Regions from separate parts of the Homo sapiens genome. Here regions 1 and 2 are each linked to region 3. The links are contacts of gene promoters, found by promoter capture Hi-C in blood cells and fetal thymus (Javierre and others, 2016). All regions are on one chromosome and are shown on one strand. The core of a region is centred on a gene start or on the middle of the fragment in contact, and the rest is flanking DNA. Distances in the headings are between cores, read along the strand shown.

Evidence for each region. Contacts are between HindIII fragments. The CHiCAGO score rates a contact against its expected background, and 5 or more counts as called.
Region 1: a contact is called between a fragment that was not itself captured here and the fragment with the promoter of XYLT1 in region 3, in 13 of 17 cell types (non-activated CD4 T cells, total CD4 T cells, naive CD8 T cells and 10 more). The highest score is 10.8, in non-activated CD4 T cells.
Region 2: a fragment that was not itself captured here is called in contact with the fragment with the promoter of XYLT1 in region 3 in 2 of 17 cell types (neutrophils and non-activated CD4 T cells); the score reaches 5.3 in neutrophils.

The regions. Positions count from the first base shown.
Region 1 is chr16:17,208,196-17,211,638 of GRCh38, forward strand. All of the region lies in intron 3 of XYLT1 (xylosyltransferase 1), which reads right to left. Among named protein-coding and RNA genes, the nearest start is that of XYLT1, 260 kb to the right of the region's middle. The HindIII fragment of the contact is 2,006 bases long and covers 994-2,999 here.
Region 2 is chr16:17,178,843-17,182,105 of GRCh38, forward strand. The region is part of intron 5 of XYLT1 (xylosyltransferase 1); the gene reads right to left. Among named protein-coding and RNA genes, the nearest start is that of XYLT1, 290 kb to the right of the region's middle. The HindIII fragment of the contact is 5,584 bases long and covers 1-3,263 here.
Region 3 is chr16:17,469,445-17,472,861 of GRCh38, forward strand. XYLT1 (xylosyltransferase 1) reads right to left here and starts at 1,516. Exons shown (of 12, transcript NM_022166.4): 1 at 990-1,516. The coding sequence starts at 1,352. It overlaps LOC107987234 (a long non-coding RNA gene), which reads right to left and starts at 983. Exons shown (of 2, transcript XR_001752091.2): 1 at 1-983. It overlaps LOC105371106 (a long non-coding RNA gene), which reads right to left. Exons shown (of 3, transcript XR_933144.3): 3 at 1,563-2,660. RefSeq lists enhancers at 296-565, 686-735, 1,510-2,011. The HindIII fragment of the contact is 8,582 bases long and covers 1-2,385 here.

The DNA of each region.
Region 1 (3,443 bases), core at 747-3,246, 260 kb before region 3:
GGCTGGTCTCAAACTCCTGGGCTCAAGCAATCCTCCCTTAGCCTCCCAAAGTGCTGGTGTTATAGGTGTGAGCTACTGTGCCTGGCCCCCATCCCTTCTTTGAGTTCCCTGTCACAGCCCCTCTGAACATCCTGCACTTCTCTTTAAAAAAAAAAAAAAGTTGTAGTCCAAGATAATACATGCTGAGTATCCCTTATGTGAAATGCCTGGAACCAGAAGTGTTTCCAATTTTGAATTTTTTCAGATTTTGAAGTATCTGTGTATATGTAATGAGATATTTTGGGGAAGGGACCCAAGCCTAAACACAAAATCCATTTCTGTTTCATATACACTTTATACACATAGCCTGAAAGTAATTTTATACAATATTTTAAATAATTGTGTGCATTAATCAAAGTTGCATTAAGCATTTATGTATAGAATTTTCCGCTTGTAGCATTATGTGCCCAAAATGTTCTGGATTTCGGAGTACTTCAGATTTTGGATTTTTGAATTAAGGATGCTCTACATGGATAACATATAATTTACTATTTTAGCCTTTTTTGGTTCGAGATGGAATCTCACTGTCACCCAGGCTGGAGTGCTGTGGCACAATCTCGGCTCACTGCAACCTCCACCTCCCGGGTTCAAGCGATTCTCCTGCCTCAGCCTCCTGAGGAGCTGAGACTACAGGTGCCCACCACCACGCCCGGCTAATTTTTTTGTATTTTTAGTAGAGATGGGGTTTTGCCATGTCGGCCAGGCTGGTCTCAAACTCTTGACTGCAGGTGATCAGCCCACCTTGGCCTCCCAAAGTGCTGGGATTACAGGCATGAGACACATCTGGCCTATTTTAAGCATTTTTAAGTTTACAGTTTAGTATAATAAATATACTTACACTGTTGTGCAACTATTATCACCATCCATCTCCAGAACTCTTTTCATCTTGCAAAACTGAAACTTTCTATCCATTGAACAATAACTTCCCACTCTCCCCTCCTTCAGCTCCTGGAAAGCTTCATTCTACTTTCTGCCTCTATGAATTTGATAAGGAACCTCATGTAAGTGACATCAGACATTATTCTTCCTTTTGTGTCTGGATCCTTTCACTTGGCGCAGTGCCCTCCTGGTTTGTCCACGTCGTAGCCTATGTCAGAATTTCATTCCTTTTTCAGGGCAAGTAATACTCCACTGTATGCATATAGCACAATTGATCCACTCATCTGTCAATGGACCCTTGAATGGCTTTCACCTTTTGGCTGTTATGAATAATGTTGCTCTGAACATGGGTGTACAAGTACCTGTTTGAGTCACTGTTTCAATTCTTTGGAGTATATTCCCAGAAATGGAATTGGTGGATCATAAAGTCACTATTTGTAATGTTTTATTTTTAGGAGCCCATCCTGCACTTCCTAACTCAGCTATTCCACAGAAGGGGTTAGCCTGGGTCTGCATCCCAGCCCTACCATTTATTAGGAGGTCACTTTGCCTCTCATGCCTCAGTTTCCTCATCTGTCAAAGAGAACTCACCTCTAAGTGATGCTGTAAGCACAGCTATAAATGAGGCAAAATAAAGCCATACAGCCTGATTGTGGAGGAGTTCATGTGGTGTGACTCCGCGGACCTCGCCCATCACACTTGAACTTGTAACTAATCACATGGCTGGAGAGTGTTTAACAGGGACCTGATCCTGAGGACTATAGCGATTGTGGTTTTGTTTTTGTCTTTTTTAAATTCGTAAGACGGGATCTCGCTCTGTTGCCCAGGCTGGAGTGCAGTGGTGTGATCATGGCTCACTGCAGTCTCAAACTCCAGGCTCAAGAGATCCTCCTACCTTAGCCTGCTGAGTAGCTGGGACTAGAGGCATGAACACCACACCTGGCTAATTAAATATATATTTGTAGAGACCAGGTCTCCCTATGCTGCTCAGGCTGGTCTCAAACTCATGAGCTCAAATGATCCTCCCTCTTCAGCCTCCAGAGTAGCTGGGACCAGAGGCATGCATCCCATGTCCATCTAATTTTTTTAGAAAAATTATCTGTAGGCTGGCTGTGGTGGCTCACGCCTGTAATCCCAGCACTTTGGGAGGCTGAGGTGGGTGGATCACAAGGTCAAGAGTTTGAGACCAGCCTGACCAACATGGTGAAACCCCGTTTCTACTAAAAATGCAAAAGCAGGTGGATAACAAGGTCAAGAGTTTGAGACCAGCCTGACCAATATGGTGAAACCCTGTCTCTACTAAAAATGCAAAAATGAGCTGGGCATGGTGGTGCACGCCTATAATCCCAGCTACTCAGGAGGCTGAGGCAGGAGAATTGCTTGAACCCAGGAGGCGGAGGTTGCAGTGAGCCAAGATCACACCATTGCACTCCAGCCTGGGTGACAAAATGAGACTCCATCTTAAAAAAAAAATTATTTGTAGAGATAAGGTCTCCCTATGTTGCCCAGGTTGGTCTTGAACTCCTGGGCTCAAGTGATCTTCCCCCTTCAGCCTCCCAGTGCTGGGATTACAGGTGTGAGCCACCTTGCCCAGTGTGTTCTTAAATGCGATGTCAGAGTTACCCAAGAGAGGATTCACATGCTGCTCACATCGAATGGCATTGAGTCAGGGGGGACTGTGAATCTTTTTTCAATTCTTACCCACCTCTCCTGAATACCCTACCAGCAAACTCTCAGGTCAATGCAAACAAATCTTCAGCAGCACTCCCCTACTGAACTTCCTTTTCCAAAAAGCAGAATCCTGCCCCCAGAACTGGCATCTCCAGCAGGTAACAGGAGTGCCCGGCTAGCACTGAATGCCATTGTTTTTGTTTCACTGATTTCTTCGCATTGTTGCTGTCTCCTCATGGCAAGTGACAGCAAGATTTCCACTTATGGCCATGATGCAAAATTACTTTTAAAATAAAATGTGCTTACATAAAAATAAAGGCGAGTCTATTGCAGTAAAAATACTACAAGAATAATATGGCAGGTGGAATGTGGATATGGCAGAATTGTGAAGGCTGGAGGGATGCGAAGGAAGCTTGGGGAATGTTAATTAGGCTCCATGAGCTTTGCTTCCAAACTAGGATGTGCTGAGTTTGTTAAACAAATGAGAGGAGGTAAAGGCAAAGGGCAGGGGGATACTCAAGCAGCCCCATCCATCCTGCAAGGACCCAAAGGTCCAGACAATGTTTTGATCTTTCTGGATGAGGGCTCCCACTTGCTTTAGGGGCCCAGGAGGGTTTGTCAGGAGTCTCCTGGGGTGGGCTTTTGGGACAGCACCTCCCTGCTAGAGAGACAGAAGTCTGTGGAGAAACACTGTCCTTTTGATTCTTACTCTAATTTGTTGAGTACTTAACATTCATGTGGTTCTTTCACTCATGAGGCTTTTACCTCTTGTAACAATGCTGCAAATGAAAATTATCCCCATTTATAGATAATCATCCCAGGCTCAGAGAGGGTGAGGAACTTGCCCAAGGTCA
Region 2 (3,263 bases), core at 45-2,544, 290 kb before region 3:
GCAGATGGCTTGAGCCCAGGAGTTTGAGACTAGCCTGGGCAACATGGCAAAACCCTGTCTCTACAAAAATACAAAAATTATCCAAGTGTGGTGACATGAGCCTGTAATCCCAGCTACTCAGGAGGCTGAGATGGGAGGACCACTTGAGCCTGGGAGGTCAGGGCTTCAGTGAGCTGTGACTGTGCCACTGCACTCCAGCCAGGGTGACAGAATGAGACCCTGTCTCAAAAAAAAAAAAAAAGTTTGTTGAATGAACGGAGCTGGAGGCTTTTATCCTAAGTGAACTAACAAAGGAAGAGAAAACCAAATACATATTCTCGCTTGTAAGGGGGAGCTAAACATTGAGTACACACGGAAACAAAGAAGGGAAGGGTAGACACCAGGGTCTCCTTGAGGAGGCAGGGAGGGTGAGGATCGAAAAACTATCAGGTACTCCATTTATCACCTGAATGATGCAGTAATTTGTACACCAAACCCCCAGGACACACAATTTACCTATGTAACACACCTGCACATGTACCCCTGAACCTCAAATAAAAGCTAGAAAAGAAGTTTGTTGATCCCTCGCCTGATAACTCTCTTTTTTGGGTCATTCACAATCTTCCTCATAACTTTCTGGCATATCCGTCTAATCGAAGTGTCTTCCTGACCCACCCTATCCTCTTTCCATGCAATAGTTTTCCTGGTACTCATTTCTACCTGATATATGACCCGCTCACTTATCTACTGTCTCTTTCTCTAATGAGCATGGAGGATGCACAACAGTGCTTGCTTTCTTTACTGCCATATTCCCAACCCCCAGCAAAATGGCTGGAGTATACCAGGCACTCAATAAGTACTTGCCAAATGACTGAAGAGCCACTTACCCCTTGTATTGTTGCCTTGTTAATATTTTCTCATTTAAATCAACTTTCATTTTATTTATTTATTTACTTTTTATTTTTAAGGAAACTTCAGCTTCCAAAATCTGGGCTGAACATGTTCCTATTCCCTTCTATGTGTTAATATAGATAAACATGGACATTTTCAAAGACTCGCCTGCATTTCTCTTTAAATCATCTTACATACTGCAAGCGGCCCACAGGCCATACTTGGGAAGTCCTGACTCATTGTTAAGGACATGGGTGGGTTTAAGCTCCACTGAGCTCCACTTCTGGGTAGCTGAGCATCTGCTCAAGTCCCTTCTCTTGCAAATGGGGACAATGAAGGTCCCATCTCACCAGATGGCTGAGAGATTAAAGGAGAACATAGAAGAAGCACTTAGCACCTGCAGAAACTCAGTGGCAGGGAACTCTCAGGGGTGGGGCCATCTCCCGGTCGCTCAGTTCATGACAAAGCAGTGCCCCCTTGGTACTGCAGCCATCACTGTCATGAAGCCTGTCTGAGACACTGCCCCAATTCCTGAATGGTTGCACCACAACCCAGCAAAGCAATTTGGATTAATGGGACTATTTAGCTGTAGGTGTCCAGAGAATGCATTGTTTAAAGTAACTTGTTGGAAACTTCCCCAGGGTGGCAAATTTTAAACAAAGATTGACTCTGTAATCAAAAATTGCTTCTGCTTGGCCTTAAACCAGATTCCGGCATCCTGAAGAGCATGATTAGACTGAGAAAGGGTGGCAATGTTTGTGCCCCTGGCTCGGTTTGCCAAGTAATGTTGACTGATGAATACAATTAAATTGCACTGAGGAGAATCCCTCCCTGGAGGAGAAAGGACATAGGAGACGGGTGATGGCTTTTAGGGGCACAGTTTTTCATTCCTTCTCCATAAGGGAACAACCACCATTGTGGGATTCCCCTTCACCCCCTACCATGGGAAAACTGGCCAGTACTACCAAATGGCCTTCCCCTTCCCATTCTCCACTTTTGGATTAACTGGTCTTATAGGCAGTGGGCCAAGACTAGATTCCAGGTTCTAGAGACACTCCATCTGACCTTCATGGGCCTGCTTCACCTAAGCTGAGTGGGAGTGGGAGGAGGCAGCAGGGGAGTCTCATGAACCATGAAGACTTTGCTCTCTGCGTTGGCTTCTGTTCCATGATGATTTCCTAGGAAGCTGACCTGCCCAGATGTCCAAATCACTTTCTGATATTGCCTGGGGCCACCAGGGGAGGGTCAGAGGCAGGCCACTTGAGCATGGGGATGGGGTGAGGGTTGGTGAGGCTGGGAATTGGAAGGAAGTTTCCCACTTGAAATTTCAGGTAGATTGCAGTTGCATTCAAAAAGTAACTGGAGAAATGCACTTGATTTTTCAAAGTAAGTGGAGAAATGGACTTGAGAAATGGAATATGTTGTTTCACCTCATTGGGGTAGAGAAGGCCAGTAAACACTAGGGCTGTCTTCAAACAGCCTTGCAGCAGGGAGGGAATATGGGGGCCCAACTACAGGCAAAGAAGGCTCAGCTCAAGGCAACTACCTTCCTCACTCTCATCACGATCAGACTTCCTCAAAGGCAGGTGCCCCCTGCCCAATCTGCATTTCTGTATTAGTACAAGGAATAGAGACATAAAATATAAGAGGAAGAAAGAAGGAGAGAATAAGGAAAGTGACCACACAAGGCCAGACCATGTTTTTGTCCAGAATTAATAACTATACAGGATTATTAATTATCATTGTCATCACTACCATTATCATCAAAAAATTTCCTTGTTAAAAAATGCCCAATTCCGGATTAGGTCCTGTGTTCCACTATCTTTCATGTTTCTAACAATCCTATGAGGAAAGTACCCTGGGGAGGGCACTCTAGCCTGCTGCCCATAGCAGGTTCTCCTCTGCCCATCTCTCTCCTACATTTACCCAAAGGGAGGAACTGAGGGTAGGATTACTTAGTGCTGGAGAGATTGCTTGAGACATGGTTATTAGTGGGCTAGATATCTGTTCTGTGAACCCTTCCTCCTCCCAAATGAATTGCACTTCTTTTTTTTTTAATGTTTCTTGCCTCAGGCCTGGGTGGTACTTAAGCCTCTTGGGGCCACGATGAGTTACCCCAACCGCTTGATGCAACGGGGTGGGTACAGTAAGCTAAGGTCTCCCTGGTGGATTCAACCATCTCTCCTTGCTTTGTATCCATCAGTATGACCAAGCATCCTGGTCCCAATGTTTTGATGGTGAGAAGGTGGAGAGGAGGTCACATGGAGCTGCCAGACCTGAGCCACCATGCTCTGACCTAGCTGTCATCAAACAGCTTGAAATAAAGCAGTACCTGGAGTCCCACCTGGCTATTCTTCCTTTTACCGCTCCCTGATGGGTAGCATGGTCATGCC
Region 3 (3,417 bases), core at 266-2,765:
GCCTCCTGCCCCATGTGCTCCTGCTCCTAGCTCAGTAGGCTGGGCAAGGCAGCCCAGAGAAGGTGGGAAAGGTATCCCTGGAGAAGTTAGGGACAGGGTAGGAAGACAAGTCAGTTCCCCACCCAGCCACCCAGATGGCCCCAGATCTGCGGAAAAAACAGTTTCAGAGCCCTGACTGTTCACACCCACGAAGGGCAAAGTAATCCCATAGGAGTGGAAGCCCTGACGGTGTGGTCGGACACACAGCTGGTGACCTGAACCGGCCGCAACAAGACAGAAAGACAGAGACAACCAGCTAGGAGAAGGAGCCATGCCCTGAAACTGGAGATGGGGAGGAGATAAAGTCACAGAGGGCATGGGAGACGGCAAGGTTAGAGACAGAGAAGGTGAAGACGGAAGGCTCAAACATCCAGAGAAGAGAAACAGAAGACCCAAAGTAAGACCAGACACCCCGGACTGAGTATTGATTCAGGGGCATGGTCGGGGACTTGGGACGCCCAGCTCAGCCCTCATCGCAGGCCAGGACGAACAGAGGGCTCAACTGTCTGCACCCAGCTCGGCAAAAACCAGAGAGATGCTGCTGCGACAACCGCCCAGGAACAGCGGCTGAGGATCCGGGGAGATCCACTCACTCAGGCAGGGAGCGAGTCACCAAGACCTACACGCACGGAGCAAGTCACCTGGGGTCCCCAGCAAGAGTGATGGGGAACAGGAACCCAGCCAGGCTCCGGTAACCCCCAAAGCGCCCCCGCTGGAGAAAACTTCCCCCAGACCCCAAGGGGTCCGTGCTCAGACTCTGAAAGGGGCAGCCCACGACCCCTGAGCCTTGGCAGGGACCCCACCCGGCTTCCCGGGGCAAGAGGCGATGTGGAGTCGGTAGGCTTGCAGAGTCCCAGTCTGATGACCGAGTTCAAGGGCTAGGGGGGCGTGGGGTCGGGCTGCCTTCCTCCCTCCCTCGCCGCGGGGCGCGAGCCGAAAGGGCATCTTACCAGAGCCCGGGCGGGCAGTGCCCCCCGGCTGGCCGGCTGCTGTCCCCGCGGTTCTCCGGGGCCGCCTCCCCGCGCCCGCGCCTGGGGCCCCCGTCCTCCTCCTCCTCCGCCGCCGCCTCCTCCTCCTCCTCGGGCTGCAGCCGGCTCGGCGGGCAGGTCCCGGCGCTCCCGGCGCGGGGCCGGGGCCGGGGGCGGCTGCTCCCCGCCGCCGACCGCTGCGCCCCCGCGGCGCTCCCCGGCCCCGGAGTCGAGGCTGCTGAAATTCCACACGACCAGCGTCTGCAGCAGCAGCACCGTGAGCGCCGCGAGCAGCGCCGAGTGCGAGCGCCGGGCCAGCCTCCGGGCGCACGGCGCCGCCACCATCTTCGGAGCGCGGCCGGCGAGCGAGGCGCGGGGACCCCGGCACGCTCCGGGCCGCCCCCGCGCTCCCCGCAGCTCCCGCGGCCGCCGGCTGCCGCTCGGGCTCCCGCTCGGGCCGCCGCCGCCGCCCCCCTCCCCACACCCCTGTCCCCGCTGGAGGGGAGGGTGATGGGGAAGGCGCCGGGGGGACGCGGGCCGAGGCGGAGAGGGCGGGGCCTGGGGGAGGAGCCGAGGGAGGAAAAGGAGGAGGGAAAGGAAGGGGGTGGGGGCGATCAGAGAAGACAGACACCCCTCAGGACGTAGTGGGAGTAGGATGGGGGGCGAGGGGGACAATTCCCAAGGCGGAAAAAGAGAGGCAGGGGCCGCGAAACAGGGGACCTTTGGTTGAGGGTGGGCCCGCTCAGAATCCAGGGGAGGTCAGGAAGAGAGGGGGTCCCGAGGTCCTGTTTTCCCTGTGGGCCGCTGGAAGGAGGCAGTGCGTGGAGGAAGCTCCTAGCCCCGGAGTTCGCGGTCCAGGGATCTTCTGTCGGTACCAGACCGGTTGGCAGGTGGACACGTGAGAAACATTTCAGGAGTGTCAGAGCCACAGTCTGATCCCTTCATCCTGGGCTTGAAGGGGTGGGGAGGAGGCTTTGGGTGAGTTTCTGGAGTTAATCAGCACAAGCTCTGTGAGTGACTCCTGAATCACACACAATCCCCGGTGCCAACGATGTACTAAGTGTTCACTGAGTCACTTCTCTGGTCCCTGAGGACTCACAAGCCAAGAGACTCCAAACCCAGTTGGCAAGTGGTATAGCGGCAAAAGGGAGACCCGTGGAGTTACTCAACCTTCGCAGGATGCAAGCCCCAAAGGCTGGCCCCGCAGCCTCCCAGCGTGTCCTTTTCCCCATCCATCCTGAAGTCCCCCTTCCTGTCTGCACAGGGCCCAGGTCCTGGGGAAACAGGTCTTGCTCTTGAAAGTGGAGTTCTTTCCCATCCTGACTGGTCTGTCCCGGTGACCTTGAGCCAGGAGGAGGAGGACTCCTCCCTGAGCCCAAGCTTTCTCCTCTGTCGTTTAGGCAGAATGATCCCAATGGACTCAAATTTCATCCCGAGCCTTCTCTGACTCAGTCTTTCTGGTTTTTCCCTCCCTTGTCCTCTTGCCCAGGGCTTTATACACAGCAGCGCAGAACAGTGAGCATATGGGATGGCGTTGGTGTCCCATACGGGACCTAGCACTCTGGGAATACAACAGCAGATCAAATCAGTTTGTGAATTGAGGACTTGGCGTGAATGCTTCGCATCTTGTCTGCTGTGCTTTTTCACCTCATCCTAATTTACAAAGAGAAGAAAGTGGAGTGTAATGAAGGCTCATCAGACAATGAGGCAGGGAGTGGGAAGAGATTGTTTCATCCACTCCACAAGCATCCGTGAATACAAAGCTTGTGTCAGACACTGGGCCAGGTGCACGCATCCAAAGGTGAATGAGGTTTAATCTCATCTTCAGCAAGCCTGAGGTCTAGAGAAGCCTGATGTGGATGTTAATCATTAAAATATAGTGAGATAGGCCTGGGCGCGGTGGCTCATGCCTGTAATCGCAGCACTTTGGGAGGCCAAGACAGGAGGATCACCTGAGGTCAGAAGTTCGAGATCAGCCTTGCCAACATGGTGAAACCCCGTCTCTACTAAAAATACAAAAATTAGCCGGGCATGGTGGCACACACCCCTGATCCCAGCTACTCAGGAGGCTGAGGCAGGAGAATCTCTTGAACCCAGGAGGCAGAGGCTGCAGTGAGCCGAGATCACACCACTGCACTCCAGCCTGGGTTACAGAGCAAGACTCCATCTAAAAAACGTATATATAAATATATATATATTGTATATATATATATTATATATAATGTATATAATAAATATATTATATATAATATATTTATATATATGTACATATAATATATATAATATATAATATATAACATATATATAATATATATATTTATATGTAAATATATATAATATTATATATATATATATGGTGAGATAAGCATTGCTGTAGAGATGTGCAAAAATGCTAAGGGTTCATGAGGGC